Linked DNA regions of Homo sapiens: region 2 is linked to region 1. Evidence: promoter capture Hi-C in 16 types of primary human blood cells and fetal thymus (Javierre and others, 2016). All regions are on one chromosome and are shown on one strand. Each heading gives the region's core, a stretch centred on a gene start or on the middle of the fragment in contact. The rest is flanking DNA. Distances are from core to core; before and after follow the strand shown. Region 1 holds the start of RAP1B (RAP1B, member of RAS oncogene family). Region 2 holds the start of IL22 (interleukin 22).

Evidence for each region. The method cuts DNA at HindIII sites, captures the fragments that hold promoters and counts their contacts. A CHiCAGO score of 5 or more calls a contact.
Region 2: a contact is called between the fragment with the promoter of IL22 here and the fragment with the promoter of RAP1B in region 1, in 5 of 17 cell types (M2 macrophages, monocytes, naive CD8 T cells and 2 more). The highest score is 8.2, in M2 macrophages.

What each region holds. Positions count from the first base shown.
Region 1 is chr12:68,608,944-68,615,046 of GRCh38, forward strand. RAP1B (RAP1B, member of RAS oncogene family) reads left to right here and starts at 1,956. Exons shown (of 8, transcript NM_001010942.3): 1 at 1,956-2,100. RefSeq lists a silencer at 1,813-2,272. The HindIII fragment of the contact is 9,459 bases long and covers 1-6,103 here.
Region 2 is chr12:68,251,437-68,257,708 of GRCh38, forward strand. It overlaps IL22 (interleukin 22), which reads right to left and starts at 2,168. Exons shown (of 6, transcript NM_020525.5): 1 at 2,147-2,168; 2 at 1,827-2,058; 3 at 1,328-1,393; 4 at 1,068-1,211; 5 at 77-142. The coding sequence starts at 2,012. The HindIII fragment of the contact is 7,204 bases long and covers 1-6,272 here.

The DNA.
Region 1 (6,103 bases), core at 706-3,205:
GATGTTAAGTGTTCTCATAAAAAAATGCTAACTCAAGGCCAGGCGCGGTGGCTCACGCATGTAATCCCAGCACTTCGGGAGGCCCAGGCGGGCGGATCACCTGAGGTCGGGAGTTCCAGACCAGCCTGACCAACATGGAGAAACCCCGTCTCTACTAAAAATACAAAATTAGCCGGGCGTGGTGGCGCATGCCTGTAATCCCAGCTAGTCGGGAGGCTGAGGCAGGAGAATCGCTTGAACCCGAGGGTGGGAGGTGGGGGCGGAGGTTGCAGTGAGCCGAGATCACGCCATTGCCTTCCAGCCTGGGCAACAAGAGCGAAACTCTGTCTCAAAAAAGAAAAAAAAAATGCTAACTCAGCCGGCGCGGTGAGTCACGCCTGTAATCCCAGCACTTTGGGGGGCCCAGGCGAGCGCATCACCTGAGGTCAGGAATTCGAGACCAGCCTGGCCAACATGGCGAAATCCCCTTTCTACTAAAAATTAGCTGGGCGTGGTGGCACGCGCCCGTCATCCCAGCTACTCGGGAGGCTGAGACAGGAGAATCTCTTGAACCTGAGAAGCAGAAATTCCAGTGAGCCGAGATCATGCCACTGCACTCTAGCCTGGGTGACAGAGCAAGACTCTCAAAAAAAAAGGTAACTCTGTGAGGTAATGTAACAATGTATACATTACTTCAAACGATCATGTTGTATACACAATAAATGCAGACAATAAACAATTTTTAAAAAGATATTTTTCTAAGGAAATAGAAATTATCGAAATAGGTAATCTACTCAATTAACCTAAATTGTAAAACATTATAAAACACAGAGAACTGTTATAATTCATTCTCATCTATTCATTTAACTTAGGTTAGCTTAGTTTTCAATCACTACATATTCTTAAACGGAGTGAAATTAGTCACATTCCATTTATCTTCCAAATTTATCAACGTTTATTAAGATTTATTTCAAGAATAATTTGTACAGGGCCTAATTAAATTATGAACCAAGAAAGTTAGTCTTAAATGACCCCTCAATCCCTTTTCCCTGCACTTTGCTCTCTTAATCTCCTCGCCCATCAAAACTGCTTCAAGAAAAAGTTCTGATAAATTTCTTGTACTAAGGGTAAGTAAGAATGGTAAATTCCCGTGTTAAGTTCCCGCCCTTTTTGGAACGAGGCATTTTGGAACAGAAAGTGTTTTCTGGTGCCCTGAAGTCACACGATAAACCTACTTGCCTATGGGTAATCCTGTGAAGTGAATAAAGCGTCCAGGACATGCATTTAAATACGCAATTTATTTTAGTTATATAAATGGCGTTGGTTTAGGTGCAGGGTACAAACTTATTTAGAAATCATCGATTTGTTAACTGCGTTTGGCATGGGAATTTGGAAAGAGTTCGCCCGGGTTAAGACACCAATGGATAAAACACTTGTCAATCCAGGAGAAAAGGCATCTCAAGAATGGAAAGACTTGCTGGCCCAGGCTCCCTCGGGGAGCTCTAGGTGTAGAAAATGCGCGCTCTCCGTTACTTCTCGGTTACTTTGCCCAGCACAAAGGACGACGCGAATACCAACAGACTGGACGAGTCGGTGACTACAGTTTGCATTAAGAGGCGGCGCCTTTTGGGTTTCGGAGGGTTCCACTGGAACCCACGAGGGTCAGGAACACCGACGCGCGGATTCCGCCCACCAGACAGCCTGGGGAAGCGAGCCTGAAGGCGCGGCGCAGCTAGAGAGAAGAACCTCGGCAGACATGCCGCCCAGAGGCAGCTAAGGGGCCCGTGGGCAGGGCCTGCGCTCCGGCTGCGATGCAGGCCGGCTAGAGGCCGGCGCCGAGGACCCGGCGCGCGGCGGCCCCGCCCCCTCGGCTCCCCTCGCCCCGCCCCCTAGGCCCGCCCCTTCCCGGGCCGCGCACCCGCGCGCCCCGCCCGCGGGCGGAAGCTGGAGCGAGGCTGAACGCCTGACGTCAAGGCGACATCGCCAAACCTCGCCCAGATTCAGGCGTGTAAACCAGCCGGAGCGGCGCGGCAGCGGCAGGACCGCCGTGGCGCCTAGAGTAGCGACCCGGGGGGAGCGCGGGGCGACGCTGGCTGCAGGGACCCGGTGACAGCGTGAGAGGTTCGCAGAGTGAGTGCGTGGCCGCTGAGGGAAGCCGCGGCGGCGGCCGCGCGGGGCCGGGCGCCGGCTGAGGGGAGCGGGTGGGGTGCGGCGAGGCGCGGGCCGGGCGCGGCGGTCAGGGGCCCCGGCGGCGGCAGCCCCTCGGCGCGCGGCAGGTGGCGCGAGGGCCAGGCGCCGGGCCCGCGAGCGCGCTGCCTTGCGGGCCGGCGAGGAGGAGCAGCCGCCGCCGCCGCGGGAGAACAGCGCGCTTTGCGGAAGGGGTCAAATGTCTGAAATATGGCGGAGGAAGTGAGAGCCCGAGGACCCCCCCACCCGCCCGCTCTCTTCAGCCCGCGTCCGCCGCAGCTTCTCCCGCCGCCCTCCTTTCCCCGCCGGCTCCCCCGAAGACTCGCTCCCCGCCCCGAGCCCCCTCGCTTGTCGCCTGGGTTCCCTCCGTGGTATGGGTGGAAGTTAGAACGGAAACCAGAAAGTTGTCCTTTGCGAAGACCTAGCTTCTCCCAGCCCCGAGCTAGGGCGAGGAGCCTTCGGGGGAAACCACTCCCAGGCGCCCCGCGGGCTTGAGCCTGACAGCGAAAAAGTTTGCCTGAAACGGGGCTTGCTTGCTCCATTTGTTGCGGGAAGTGGCAGGAGGAAGGCAGCGGAGAGAGCCCCACTTAGTCTGGCAGCAGCCACCGTGTAGAGAAAAACTGTTAAAGGGGCCTTTCCCTTCGTCAGCAAGAGGAAATCTCTTTCTCTTAGAGGGAGAGAAAATCCAGGAAGTTTGTCCTCTTCTCTTTTTCGCCATCTCGAGGTGTCTAATCCTAAAACTATCAGCGCCATGAATTTTATTTAAAACTACGCCCAGTGAACCGGGCTCTCCGGATTTTTCTTCTGAAAAACACTGATGTCTTTTGGAGAAAAGATCATTTTTGCAAGTTAAAGCAGATGGTTTCCTTCCCCTTCGCTTTCCCCCCTCTCCCACTCTCTTTAATAGTTTAGAAAAACATTTTGGCCCTGTAACTTCTGATTGGTATGAATAGAAGCAGTTCTGTGTTGCAGTAAGGGGAAATCACATTTTTACGGGGTAGAAAGTTGACACTAAATGAAGATTGTGATTTTAGTATTTTAAAATTAATTCCGTCTAATTGGATTTTGGTTTTGCAGGCAGCATCTCATATATGTCGAGTACTTAACAATTTAAAGCTCTGACTTGTAAATTTATTTTTCAGCTCTCTTTTTTCGTAATTAGAATACTGTTTGGACTTGCTCAACAAGACCTTATCTTAACAAAAAGTAACTTATAGAAAAGGGAGACATTCATTTAACTTCAAGCCCATATTATTCTTAAAAGCTGACTCTTGAAATAGTATTTATTGAGTCATAGTGGAGTCATGGGACTTTTTAAGGGCCGGAAGGGACTATTTAGATCATCCAGTCCCACCCTGTCATTTTATGGAGGAGGAAACTGAGGCCTAGATAAGATAACCAGTTAGTGGGTCCACTGACCTTTAGGACAGTAGTCTATCCGTAAGAGACAACATGGAGAAAGAAATACAACGTTTTTATAGTGAATTATCATCTTACAAAGAATATTCTTCCCATATCGCACTTTTAAAAAGTGGGTACCTTAGTCAAATAGGAGAAAAAACCACTTGAGTAGTTTCATCCTCAGGTTTTAGGTGAGGAAACTGATACTCAGATTAAATAACTTTAAGCACACAGAGCCTGAATGATAGTCTTATTTGAGCTCATCTGTGCTTTTAATGTGTACTACGTTAGGTGTTTTCACTTGCATTTCCTTTAGTCTTATTTGAGCTCATCTGTGCTTTTAATGTGTACTACGTTAGGTGTTTTCACTTGCATTTCCTTGTTTGACGTTGACAATAAATCGTGAAGCTGCCTTATCTAAGGAAGTCCTAAAGTAAATCATTGGAACACATGTAGCCAGTTTGTTGTTTTTAATATGCCAGGTATCAAAATATAACTGAAGAACCAATGCTAAACTGACTTAATTTTAAAATGTTGTATGGGGCATGAAAATGATTGCTCTGGCTGGGCGTGGTGGTTTACGCCTGTAATCCCAGCACTTTGGGAGGCCGAGCCGAGGAAGGCGGATCATTTGAGGTGAAGAGTTCGAGAACAGCCTGGGCAACATGGTGAAACCCCGTCTTTACTAAAAATACAAAACATAGCCGGGTGTAGTGGCACGCGCCTGCAATCCCAGCTATTCGGGAGGCTGAGGCACGAGAATATGAACCTGGGAGGTTCACATTGAATGAACCAGCTTGAACCTGGGAGGCGGAGGGTGCAGTGAGCCGAGACTGCACTACTGTACTGCAGCCTGGGTGACAGAGCTAGACCTGTCTTAAAAAAAAAAAAAAAAAAAGGAGATAAGAAAATGATTGCTCTGCTCTCTTTTACATTCTCCCCTCACCCACGACCGCGTGAAAGTCATCTCTCTTACCTTCTATGACACGCATTACTTCCTGCCTCCTGTTACCATTTTATATTATTTATTCCATTGAATTGTGAACTCCAACCACAAGATATATATTGTTTTGTATGCCTTAACGCACTGGCATGGTGCCTTGCAATAGACATTCAACACCAGTTAAATGTAAGTACCATGAGGGTAGGGACTTAATCCATTTCATTCTTCACAGTAATCTTCCTAGCGCGTTGCCTGGGCACAGTGTAGCGCGTTGCCTGGGCACAGTGTAATGGTTAGCGTTTGAATTTAGGGATTAATGGTAATGAACATTCAAAGAGAGGATATTTGAAGAGAACAGTGTAATCCTTTAAAAAGAAACATTTACATATTGGCTTTGGAATCCCTTTTACTTGACAAATTAATTTTCGTTTTATCCTCAATCCTTTTCAGAATTCCAATATTTTCTCTTAGCTGTATAAAGGTAAAGTGACCCCCTCCCATAATAAAGAGCTACCATGTAAGGAGGGTATAGCAAAGAATTAATTATTAAAATAACTAGATCCATTTTTGTAAGGATCCTTTCAATTGTATCTTCCTATCTAATTCAAGATTGGTGGAAGGTCTATGCAAAGATTGATAACATGGTAACTGATTAGACATGTTATTTTAAATGCAGTCCAAGATTTGGATGAAAAGCTCACGTTCAGGTTTTTTTTGCCTTTTGTTGTAGGTACTCGATAAATATTTATTGAGGTAGTGAAACTAATCTGAAATTGGATCTGATACAGAGAATTTGACCGATTTTACAAGGTGTCCATTTACTTTTTCCCCATAAGTATTGTTTAAATAGGCTGTTTTATTATCGACTATCACACAGATCTTACTGATTTGCCTCATTTCCTTAAAGATGTAAAATAACTGTGTTTCTCTGTATGTTTGTGTTGCTAAAGAGGAGGTTGGGTATTGATCTGCAGTTTCTAGATTTGACTGGCACTAGGAGTAATTTAGCATTTATGAATTAGCTATTTACTGCTGTTTTATAGCAGTGATGTCACGTGTTCACTCTATAGAAAAGTTAGGTAAAGATTGGTCTGTCTTAAACTTTCTGAGACATAGGTTGTGACTAAAAATATGCCCTGGGTTTTCTTCCCCCTCCTGTCATTATTGAGGACTCCATGGTCTAAGAGATTAGGCTGAAGTTTTTGTTAGCCTTTTCAAATTGAATTGAATTTTAGAACAAGTTAAGACATTTTGGCTGATGCAGTGATTCATTGTAACATTGGACAAAATTTTTAGTTCAGCCATCTGTAAACAGGAGTACTGTACCATGGCTCTGGAAGCTAGTGTTTTTCTGTGTTCATAGATTATTTTGCAATGGTATTGAAAGGTACTAATTGCCATTTGAGGTCTTAAGTTCTTTGTAAATCTCATAAGCACAGTGGAAGCAGTAGCTACAAAGAATAGATGAATTTATCCATTTGCAGTAAAAACTGATTTGTATGTAATCTGTTGTACTTTGAACCCAGTTGAGCACTGGATTCTAAAACAAGTCTCTTTGGTCGTGGAGAGTTTCTATTTTAAACAAGAAAAGTT
Region 2 (6,272 bases), core at 918-3,417, 360 kb before region 1:
GGAAGAAAGAAAGGAAAGAAAAACAACATTTGTCTCTCCTATTGCATGACTTAGCATTGACAGTTATCAGTCCTACCTTTTTCACTGTGTCCTTCAGCTTTTGCACATTCCTCTGGATATGCAGGTCATCACCTTCAATATGCTATAAAACAATAACAAGCATAACTATCTTAATGTTGTGCTGAAACTTTATGAACCTCCACACCCATGGAGGTACAGTACAATTCACCTGGAATTAAAGCTCTTAGTAATTTTGCCCACAATGACCTAGATTTCAACAGTGACCTAGATTTCCTGAGCTCTTGAATTCCCTTGGACGCCAGAATCCAGTCACTTCCCTTACAAGAGACCTCTCTTCATCTTTGGGAAATCCTACTGAGGTTTGCATTTGTGGAAAGAGCGGAGTAGTTTATGCAAATTCTGTAAGGAATAAAACCTCAATCGTATCTCCAGAAAATTGCATGCTTAGAACAAGAAATGTACATAAAACATCTCATGTGAAAATTAAGCCCTCTTCAGTAAGTCCTAGGGCCTTTTACTGGGCCCACTCCACTCAAACTTTTTTTCATAGTTTCAAATGTTCAGCGGCATCAAGTTCACACGCCTCCGATTTTGTGGCTTCCCATGACATCAACAGGGCAACAGTCTGCCGACCCACCACCGACTTTAAGCCTTCCCATTTCCCACTTTCTCTTCTAATTTCTCTCCATGCCATCCCCTCCCCTCAACAACTTAGACTCAATGGATCCATTTCCACATCTAGATGTTTTTCCCAACACCTTTCTCATCTTACGCAACCTGAGTTGCCTTTTTTCCGAAGACAAACCAATGCGGCTTCTGTACACTTAAGTTCCAGACCCCATTCACCACTATAAACTCAAGATGTGACTCAGTCAAAGCAAAAGCAAATACTCTATGATCCCAAATGACTCCTGATAACACTGCTGCCAAGACACTTCTTCCTGCTAGCTTAGGGGTAGGGGGAAGGAGAGAGAGTTGGGGTAAGGGGGTCTCTGTGGAAGGAGGGAAGGAGGGGTAGGTGGGCATAGGCTGAGAGCTGAACTTACACATGTGCTTAGCCTGTTGCTGAGCCTGGCCAGGAAGGGCACCACCTCCTGCATATAAGGCTGGAACCTATCAGATTGAGGGAACAGCACTTCTTCAAGGGTGAAGTTCAGCACCTGCTTCATCAGATAGCAGCGCTCACTCATCTGCAGGTGGAAGGGAAACAGAAAGGGTCATAAGGGATAAGACCTAAACCATCATCACCACCACCCCAAGTACCCATGGACGGCACACGGCCCTGTTCGTCACAACTGTAGCTTACACTGACTCCGTGGAACAGTTTCTCCCCAATGAGACGAACGTCTGTGTTGTTATCAGCCAAGCTAGCCTGGAAGAGAAGAAAAGACTAAGGGTCTGGACATTGAGCAAATAGAAAAAAAATTTATACATAGACATGTGCCCCATCCCGTCTCCCCAGAGCAACATCATAAAGACTAAAAGCAGAATTCAGATGTGTGCATGAGTTTAGAACAATGCACAGAGGCATAAAGGAAAAAAAAAATCATCAGATGGATTACTGAATGGCCGCTCTTTGGGAAAAATTCATCATATGTATCATAAAGGCCAAAATGGAAGGAAGAAGTTCAAGAAAAAAAAAAAAGCCAGATTCCCAAAGAGTCTCTGAAAAAACAGAAAATTTATCTACCCTCAGGGATAAACAGTGGGTTCCTAAAGCTCTTAGAGATGCTCTGAAGAAAAGTTTAAGAACTATTTGGATTCCAAGTAGATCCAACGAGAAAGAGCAGGATTGAGATGTATACCTCCTTAGCCAGCATGAAGGTGCGGTTGGTGATATAGGGCTGCTGGAAGTTGGACTTGTCAAGCCTGCAGTGGGAGCTGATGGGCGCAGCTGCTCCTCCCTGTACCAAGAGGGCCAAGAGAAGGAGGCAGCTGGTGGCCAGGGTCCCCATAAGGAAAGAGCTCACAGATTTCTGCAGGGCGGCCATTGCAGACAATTCTAACTCGAGCAACTGGTGACTGGGGAAGGAGAACCTGGTCGAAGACAACGTGAAGGAACAAAATTAGTCAAGAAGTATTTCATCAAACTAACCAATTGTACCAAGTTTGCCGAAACGCTTACCTGTTCTGAAGATTCTGCTTGTGACGGGGAAGGTAGAAGCTGCTGCTTTTATAGCCCCCAGGATACTGACTTTTTTTTAATTGTGAAAAATATGACATCAGCAATTATCTAATTTCCAGTACTGTCTTCTGAGAACGACCTAACCACCACAGGAGCCCACAAAACACCACCTCTATCCTTTCCACCTTGAGATGCAAGTGTTTCCCTAAAACGTCACTATTAGAGCCCGGAGGGTATTTTACAGACAAATCCCAGAAATTTTCTAAACCCTACATATTTTTCAAAGAACACAATTGTTTTGTCTTAGTAGAGTTCAGATTTAGTATAAAATGTTTTGATCTCCTATAGTGGCTGAGTAAGCATTTTGGTCACGGACTCATTTTCCTACCAGCTTTATAGATTCTTATCTCATTGGAGGTGATCAGAAAAAAAGGACCCATGTCCTATATCCTCTGCTTTAAAGTAAATGGTAATGACAGCTAACAGATCATTCCATTATTAAAATAATTTTATCTCATTTTTAAACATGCTGAATTCTAAACCAGACTTATGTTTCAAAAATAACTGTCTTGGCTAATCTAATTATTGTTTTCTTCCCTTTTTGGAACTATTTTTAAGTGATCATAACAATTAAGGCAGAAGTAAATATATCTTAAAATTGTATTAATTGAATTATAATCAATATCAACTTAAGTTTGTAAATACTAATGCTGAAAATCTGATCTCCTTTTTTCTTAACATGTAAACTTTTTTTAAAATAAAAGAATACCATGGATATAGTTCATCTTAAAATTTTACCTAATTCTACACTTCACACAAGTCTCAACATAATATTTCCAAATAATCCTATAACAACTATATATGTGTGTGTATATATATTATATATGTGTGTATACTATATATATACATATATATGCAACATTTTATATATATACATATATACACACACACACATGGATGTCTGAAGAAGGGAATATAGGAATATAGAGGTTCCGCGTTACCTTCAAATTATTTAAAAATACACCTAAAACTAGACTGGAAATTCTCCCGCAGAGCAAGGAAGCAAATGCAAGTATCAAAATGCAAATACCTATTGCTGAGGGAAGGAATGTGAATTAGTGCAAATTTGTATAATCAGATTTTTCTCCTCACAACTAGTTAAGATCAGGAGTGTTGAAGAACTGGAAGTAGGGATGTAAATAATTGTAAAACCTAGACCACTTTTTGAGATGGCACAGACCTAAGCAAGGTGCCACTGCAAAGGGTCGGAACCACATGAGGACACTGAGCATTTGTGAAGGTGGCCAGAGGAGAAAGAAGCAAAAATGAAGATTAGTGAGAGTAAAAAACACCACATGATCACACTTGCATGTGGAATCTAAAACACTTGAACTCATAGAAGGAAAGAGTAGAATGGTGGTTGCCAGGGGCTGGGTGGGCAAGGGGCAGCGAGATGGGGAGATGTTACCCAAAGGATACAACATTTCAGTTAAAGAAGAGGAATAAGTTGAAGAGCTCTATTGTCCATCATGGTGATGATAGTTAAGAACAATATATCGTATGCTTAAAAATCACAAAGAGCATAGATTGTAAATGTTCTCATTACAAAAAAAAATTTCAAGTATGTGAGGTAATGCATATATGTTAATTCACTCAATTTAGCCATTCCACAATGCATGCGTATATCAAAACATATATGAAATCAACCTAAGTATCCACAGATGGATGGATGAATGGATAAAGAAAATGTGGTATATATACACAATGGAATACTATTCAGCCATAAAAGAAATGTAATCCTGTCATTTGCAATAACGTGAATGAACCTGAAGGACACCATGTTAAGTGAAATAAATCAGATGCGGAAAAACAAATACTGCATGATCTCACTGATATGTGGAATCTAAAAAATAATAATGATAATAATAAAGTTGATATAGAAGCAGAGAATATAACAGTGGTTTACCAGAGACTGGGGGAGTAAGTGGGGAAAGGAGGATGGGGAGAGGTTGGTCAACGGGTACAACGATACAATTAGAAGGAATAATTTCGGTGTTCTATTACACAGTAGAATGACTGTATTTAACAGGAAAATATTGTATTTTACAAAATAGCTAGAAGAGAGGCTTTTGAAGATTCTCACCACAAAGTAATGATAAATGCATGAGGTGATGGATACACTAACTAACCTAATTGTATCATACAGCATACACTTATATCAAAACATCAAATTATACTCCATAGATATGTACAATTATAATGCATCAATTTAAAAAATAAGTAATTTTTAAAACATCATATTGTGTAACATAAATACTGTATATATAATTTTTATTTGTCAAATAAAAATAAGATTTTTTTTCTGAATTGAAAAAAAATAGGTGTGTTCCAAATGTTTCCTTGGGGTTGACCATGGGCCCAAGAAAAGATGATGAAACTCTTCCTTATTCAGTTTCCTATTATATATGGCCATTTTTGCCCAGAACTCCGTATAATTCTATTAGCACTAGATTTAAGCTATTCATCGATTAAATAGGCTTTTGTGGGTTTGCCTGGGAAACTGACCAGCATACATAATTTTCTTTCCACGGGAAAATAAGTTTTGACATCGTTGAATTACATGCTTTCGAGGGAAGAGTCTCTGTCTCTTTCGTCTTTGTGACTCCAACACTTAGAACAGTGCTACACACATAGGAAGGACTCAATAAAAGCATATTGACAGCCTTTACGGTATTTCTAAAGTTGATGTTTGACCCAGTCCTGCTTACCAGCTTATTGTTCCTGAATAGAAAATAAATCACTGTGAAACAGAAAGAGAATGTCAGAAAATTGCAAAGCCCTCTTTAAGAGCAGCAGTGTGTCTCTTATTCATTGTATGCCCCTGATGGACCAAGCATCAAGAAGATAGTGTTAATGGAGCCTAGATCTTAAGTTTCAATGAGTTTAACTAAAACTCACTAAAGGGAAAATCTGCTCTGGTGTTGTATGGGGGTTTCTGAACAGTCATACTAGGAGTCTCAGAAATATTTGCTATTAGAAGAGATTGTGAGGCTGGGCGCAGTGGCTCACGCCTATAATCCCAGCACTTTGGGAGGCTGAGGTGGGCAGATCACCTGAGGTCAGGAGTTTGAGACTAGTCTGGCCAACATGGTGAAACCCTGTCTCTACTAAAAATACAAAAATTAGCCGGGGGTGGTGGTGCACCTATAGTCCCAGCTACTCGGGAGGCTAAGGTGGGAGAATCGCTTGAACCCAGGAGGCTGAGGTTGCAGTGAGACAACATCACCGCACTGTGCTATAGTCTGGGTGATAGAGCAAGATTCTGTCTCAAAAAAAAAAATGGAAGAGATTGTGGGTATAACAAAAAGGTGATCCTGTGAAAACAGCAACCAGAGACATATGTATGCTAAATACTTTCAGATTATAATGGGCCTTTTCTGCAGTTGTTTCCTTGTGAATTTTCAAGTCTCTCCCAAAGCCACCGCAGATGAAGAGCAACCCCAAAGCCCACCTCCCAGGTCCCAGACAGACCATACCCATGGTTGATTTGGAATATGTAACAATTTACCTGATCTAATGCCAAGAAGGACTAATCAGAATCCTCAACCAGAAGTAGGCTTTGGCTGTCTCATTCACTATACTGTGCCTAGCACATGGAACAGTGCCTGGCATATAGTGGCAAAATAAATATTCATTGATCACATACATAAAATAGTTTCCCAACTCATTGACTGATGCTAGAAAATCCATGACTGGAAATGCATTCTTTAAGACACAAATCTCCCTAGAAGAAAGAAGACTTCTGGTATCACAGGTAAAAAGATTTGTACTCATCATACTCTTCAGTCCAGTGCACATGATCATTGTTCCATACAAGTTTCTGTGTGTGTGTGTGCACACGTGCGTGGGTGTGATCCTACCCTCATCATTCTCCTTCCCTCCCCACTAAACACCTACCACCACCTCTACCATTGCCATAGGTCATGGCTCTAATGTTTCATGTGTATTTCTGAATATCGATGCATCCCTGTGCAAAAAGAAGTGTTGTTTAGTGTGTGTAGGTATTTTTATTTTACAGGAATGGCTCTCTTTCTTACCTTTTTACTGAGCATGATGTCTTACCATC